Regions from separate parts of the Homo sapiens genome. Here region 2 is linked to region 1. The links are contacts of gene promoters, found by promoter capture Hi-C in human tissues and cell types (Jung and others, 2019). All regions are on one chromosome and are shown on one strand. Each heading gives the region's core, a stretch centred on a gene start or on the middle of the fragment in contact. The rest is flanking DNA. Distances are from core to core; before and after follow the strand shown. Region 1 holds the start of MAML1 (mastermind like transcriptional coactivator 1). Region 2 overlaps GFPT2 (glutamine-fructose-6-phosphate transaminase 2).

What was found. The method cuts DNA at HindIII sites, captures the fragments that hold promoters and counts their contacts. A contact is called where the count stands out against the background at its distance.
Region 2: a contact is called between a fragment that was not itself captured here and the fragment with the promoter of MAML1 in region 1, in 1 of the 25 tissues and cell types used here (hippocampus).

The regions. Positions count from the first base shown.
Region 1 is chr5:179,731,502-179,734,201 of GRCh38, reverse strand. It overlaps MAML1 (mastermind like transcriptional coactivator 1), which reads right to left and starts at 1,380. Exons shown (of 5, transcript NM_014757.5): 1 at 775-1,380. The coding sequence starts at 1,089. It overlaps CANX (calnexin), which reads right to left. Exons shown (of 15, transcript NM_001746.4): 15 at 2,561-2,700. RefSeq lists silencers at 788-847, 1,088-1,287 and enhancers at 476-976, 1,738-1,837. The HindIII fragment of the contact is 20,196 bases long and covers 1-2,700 here.
Region 2 is chr5:180,313,919-180,316,618 of GRCh38, reverse strand. GFPT2 (glutamine-fructose-6-phosphate transaminase 2) reads left to right here. Exons shown (of 19, transcript NM_005110.4): 13 at 158-278; 14 at 2,655-2,700. Among named protein-coding and RNA genes, the nearest start is that of MAPK9, 23 kb to the right of the region's middle. RefSeq lists an enhancer at 2,576-2,700. The HindIII fragment of the contact is 6,418 bases long and covers 1-2,700 here.

The DNA.
Region 1 (2,700 bases), core at 131-2,630:
AAAACCACTGAAAAACCTTGTCTCTTTTGTAAATCTGTTTCAGGAAGAAAAACCTCTAACCAACAAATTTCAGGAACATTTACTGAGAGCCCAAAGGGAGTAATAATTGACCAACAATCTAACATCATCAGAGATTTTAAACAGGCCTGATAAATTAAAACTAGAATTGTCAACAATATTGCAGGAATCTCAAGTTCACAAAGTTCAGGCTACCTAAACAAGGAATACTTATATGCAACTCATTGAACATTTTACTAAGTTTTCCAAAAATTTCTTGATTTTCCATTCAGAGGAGTTTCAGTTGGTCAACCAAAGGCCGACTTATTTCCACATGAAAGCCCTGATCCTGCTCACAGCACAGGATCTTGTAAAGGGCAAGGACCCAATAAACATTTGCAGAATAAATGAGGCCAGGCCTACGGTGCAGGAACTCCCTCCATCACAGGCGACTCGAATGCTAGTCTATTTCGAATAAAGATCTCAACATCCCGGAATCAAGTCTGGAAGAAAAACCCTCCGGTTAGCGTTCGCCAGCCTTCCCAGGTCGGGCCTCCTGCAAGGCCCTCAAGGCGCTGTTTTCCCAAAGTAACGCCACCGTGCCACTTCCCAAAGATGACAACCTCTCAGCTCCCTGCCATGTTACCCTCTCTCCAGCCAGATCCAGGAGTCGCGGACGCCTGGGGAAGTCTCCCAGCGGCCCGATCCGCGTCAGAGGAAGCGTTTTCGGGAGAGGGGGCTGCCGCCACGACAAGCGCCTTCCCGCGCCCTACTCACCGTGGCCGGGCGGCCGTGCTCGGGGCCGTCAGCGGCGTCCAGGCGCGGGGCCGGGGCGGCGGGCGCCGGGGCCGTGGCGGCGGGCGGCTGCCTGTGCTTCCCGGCGCGCTTGGCCTTGGCCTGGATGCAGCGCTGGTGCAGGGCGAAGGTGTGTTGGCGCTCCAGCTCCAGGCGCTCGGGCGACACGGCCTCGTAGCGGGCCTCGCAGGTGCTGTGGTGGCGCCGGCACAGCTCGATGCGCCGGCGAAGGCGCTCCATGACCGCGCTGTGCCGCGGCAGCGCGAACTCCGCCATGGGGCAGGTGGGCAGCACCATGGGCCGCGGGCTGCACGGGCCGGGCCCGGGGCCGGGCCTCTCGGGGCCGGCTGGCACTGCGGGCTTCGCTCCCCGCGGCTACCCCTCTCCGCCTCACGGCCGCGCCATGCCCCCGAGGGCAGCGGAGCGGGCTCGCGCGCGGCGGCGGGTTTTCCTCCTGCCCCGCTCGGCCCGACCCCCAGCCGGCGCTTGCTGCCTACCTCAAGCCTCGGCCTCTCCCCACCGCCCCGGCCCCATTGTTTTCCGCGCTACCGCCGCGGCCGCCATCTTAAAATTGTTTTCGGGCCTCTCGGAAGAAGGCGGGGCCTCGGTAAGAGACCTTGTGCATCACGACTGATGAGCAGGGGCCCTGGCCAATCAGAGAAGGAAGAACCGGCCGCCCGAGGGCGTGGGGACGAGCACGCAAGAGGCGCGCTCGGGCGCCAGAGCGGTATTTAAAAGGAATTCTCAAGCGAAGGGCGGAGGGAAGCCCCTGGGCGGGCCTTAATCCTGGGGGCGGAGCTAAGCGTGACTGACAGGAGCCCGTCCAAGAGGCGGCTATTGGTTTCCTGCACAGCACCCGCTGAAGGCAGGCCCTTCCGGCTACCCCGAGAAAAGGGGAATCTGGCAGGCGAGTGCGGCGCAGCTGGCCAGTCCCTGTCGCCCGCCTGGCAGTACAGAGACCTTTTTTTTAAATTATTTTTTAAATTTCGACTTTGATAAACTCTAAGTAGCCACGCTATTTTAATGTCAGCCGTTTTACTTTGACCTTATTCCTTGTATCCAGCCCCATAATTGGTCAGAATCGTCTAGTGAGCTGGTAGTTTCCTCTTGCAACATTCCGAATCACTGGTAGTTTCCACCTATTTGTAAAAGCCCGAGCAAGTTTCAAAAGTGCAGTATTACTCACTACTTAAAAAAAAAGTCCAGAAGATGTGAGCAAAAGCATGCAAGAGTGCAGCTCCATTAGAGGGAACTGGAAATGCAAAGGACGACGTTTCACCACAACCACCGCCTTCCAGGCTCAAGCGATTCTCCTGCCTCAGCCTCTCCAGTAGCTGGGATTACAGGCATGCGCCACCACGCGCGGCTAATTTTGTATTTTTAGTAGAGACGGGGTGTCTCCATGTCGGTCAGGCTGGTCTCCCACTCCTGACCTCAGGTGATCCGCCCACCTCGGCCTGCCAAAGTACCGCGATTACAGGCGTGAGCCGCCGCGCCGGACCAAAAACAGTCCTTTAGGTAAAACTGAGTTACTCAACAAAACCAAACCAAGACAAATTATGCCCCATTATTAAAACTAATAGGCAAAGGGGAGTAGAGGGACTGGAGCAATCAAACAGTGTTAGTACTAAAACTAGATAGTGTGATGCCAAAGGATATCAGGAACTCTAGATATGGGCACTCTAATTGCTAAAAGGTTAAGCAGGAGGTGGCAGGAGGCTGCACATTGAGATACACCATCAGTAGTTCAAACATTCGTTACTCTAGCTTTTTACTAGGGCTCATGAGGTTTTATTTTAAAATCAAGAGAAAACAACAATCAAATATGTCTTCATACAAACGCAGCAGAAAAATACAAATCCTAATGTTTTAAATGGAGAAAGTGGGCCACCAAGGCAAAAGTGCCAT
Region 2 (2,700 bases), core at 194-2,693, 580 kb before region 1:
CCTTTTATCTTCGAGGTGGCCTGTGGGTGACCGAAGTCCCCTCGCCACCTGGACAGTGAGGTTCCGTGTCACAAACTGTCCCTAGAAGCCCAGCTGCCCCATGTCCCTGTCGTGCCTGTGACTGACTTTAGTCTCCATGCTTGCTTGTTGGCTTCAGACGCGGCAAGTTTTGGAGGAACTGACTGAGCTTCCTGTGATGGTTGAACTTGCTAGTGATTTTCTGGACAGGAACACACCTGTGTTCAGGGATGACGTTTGCTTTTTCATCAGCCAGTCAGGTAAGGGACACAGGCATTGTGGCCAGCCTTGCATCAGGTCAGCTCTGGGCTCTCTCCTCTTCTCCTTCATTCAGTTAAGTCCTCTGCATGGCTACCCTGTGCTGCGAACCCTCTCTTGCAGCGGTCATTTAACCCGTAGAGCCATGGATTACTGTCGCCATTGTACGGGGAGGGCAAGAGATGTCTAAGGCCATGCAGTCAGGGGGTGACAGCTGGGATTGGGCTGGAAATCCACGCACGTTAGTCTTTCCCCTGCCCCGTGGCTTCTCCCTCTTCTTGCCTATCCAAGACTTCAAGGACCACTTACCGAAGTGCTCATAAATGTTTGCTGATTTATGTTAATAGAAAAAGCATCTCCTTTAACATTTTGTTAGGTTGAGAGTCACGTGGAGGACCCAGTATGGGCTCTGTGCCCAAGTGTCCAAGCCGAGCTGCCTGTGGCATGCAGTGCCCATGCTGCCCAGCAGGGGGAGGTGTGGGGGAGACAGTGCTCCCTTTTAGGGCCAAGGAAGGTCTCCCAAGCTACATGCACCCCATCTGGTGCCATCCCAACACTGGGCTTGACATTTGCTCCAGCTGTCTCAGGGAGGTGATCCAGGGCCATAGGCTTGGAGTCTCCTTGAGCTCGTGGAAGATTTTTGAAATGTTTTAATTACGGATAATTCCAAGCCTTTATAAAAGTAGAATTTTCATATAATGAATATCCTAGCCTTATCCAGCCCATCTTGTGCCGGTCGGACACACTCATATTAACCCCTCGTCTCCATGGGGTTACTTTGAAGCCAATCCCGGGCATCATGATATTCATCCATATAAATACTTCAGGCTGCATGATTAAAATGACAAAAGAAAAACATATAACCGGCCGGGCGCGGTGGCTCACGCCTGTAATCCCAGCACTTTGGGAGGCTGAGGTGGGCGGATCACGAGGTCAGGAGATTGAGGCCATCCTGGCTCACACAGTGAAACCCCGTCTCTACTAAAAATATAAAACAATTAGCCGGGCGTGGTGGCGGGCGCCTGTAGTCCCGGCTACTCAGGAGGCTGAGGCAGGAGAATGGCGTGAACCCGGGAGGCGGAGCTTGCAGTGAGCTGAGATCGCGCCACTGCACTCCAGCCTGGGCGACAGAGCGAGACTCCGTCTCAAAAAAAAAAAAAAGAAAAAGAAAAACGTATGACCACGGTGTTACTACCACAACTAAAATACTGATTGTAATGCCCTATCATCTATTAGGACTTTTAGTACTCCTGCCATTTTCCATTTTAAATACCATTTCCATTTTGTTGACAAGTGAAGAAAAACCAGTACAGATACACCGACCATCCGGCCCACCACCTTATGACGCAGGAGCTGCTGCCGTGTTCACCTTTGGGTTTCTGATCCCACCAGAGCCTCAGACTATTTTATAAATTGGTGGGAGACATTAACAAAAGAACAGAGGTGGAGCTAATATGAAAATAATGCAGTGGCAGCTTCCGAATCTCTGTGTGTATAGAAGTCAGCCCTTTAATGAGATTGAAAAAACACTATCGAACCCTAGGGCGCGGGTGACAGAAGTTAGAACCCCCTTTCCCGCACCCTCACCGCAGTACCCCGTGACACTCCAGTGCCATAACCCAGGGCTCTGAAGAAAGAAAAGCAGAGGAGAATTGGGCCACCTAGCACCGGGCGGCACCTGCCTGCCCTGCAAAGCTGGGACAGACACAGCCAAGAGCAGTGGCCCTGCAAACAGAACAGCCTCCCGACTCATGAGGATTTCAACAGTTTTGATTTTATAGTCTGGCTTATGCTGAATTTAATTTGAGTGCTTTAGGACTCACAAACATAGGGAGCTTGTGCTGGTTTATGCATGAAGCTGTTTAGCTTTATTCTAAAAACAATTTGAGTCCACACTGAGAGGCTTGCAAGAAGTGTCCTTTCAAACAGGATCTAGCTGAGAAACACCACTTGGGGACATTCCTGCTTGTCAGATGTTAAATCTGTTCCATCTCAGCACGTTCTGAATAAGGCAGCTTATTCAGTTGCAGAGAGGGCGCTGGGAGCCAAGCCCACCTGTCACCAGCTGTATGGCTTTGATCAGAGCACCGGTTTCCTCCTGTCTCTGAGCCCTCATCCTCAAGAGGAAAATGGGGACGATGGTCCTCACGGGGTTGTCACGAGATTTAAATGAAAAGATGCTTGCCACAAATAGTAACACACCTTGAATGTAAGAATCAACCGAAAAGGCTGTTGAGCGAGCGTTTTCCTTTCTGAACACCCGCTGGCTGTGTCTCGGGCGCCGATTTCCCTGTAAGAGCCGGCGGTGAAGGAGGAAGGGGTTTGGGGTGGGGCCGAGGCTGGCGGAGCGCGGCACTGAGAGGGCCCCTGGGCGGCAGGCGAGACCGCGGACACCCTCCTGGCGCTGCGCTACTGTAAGGACCG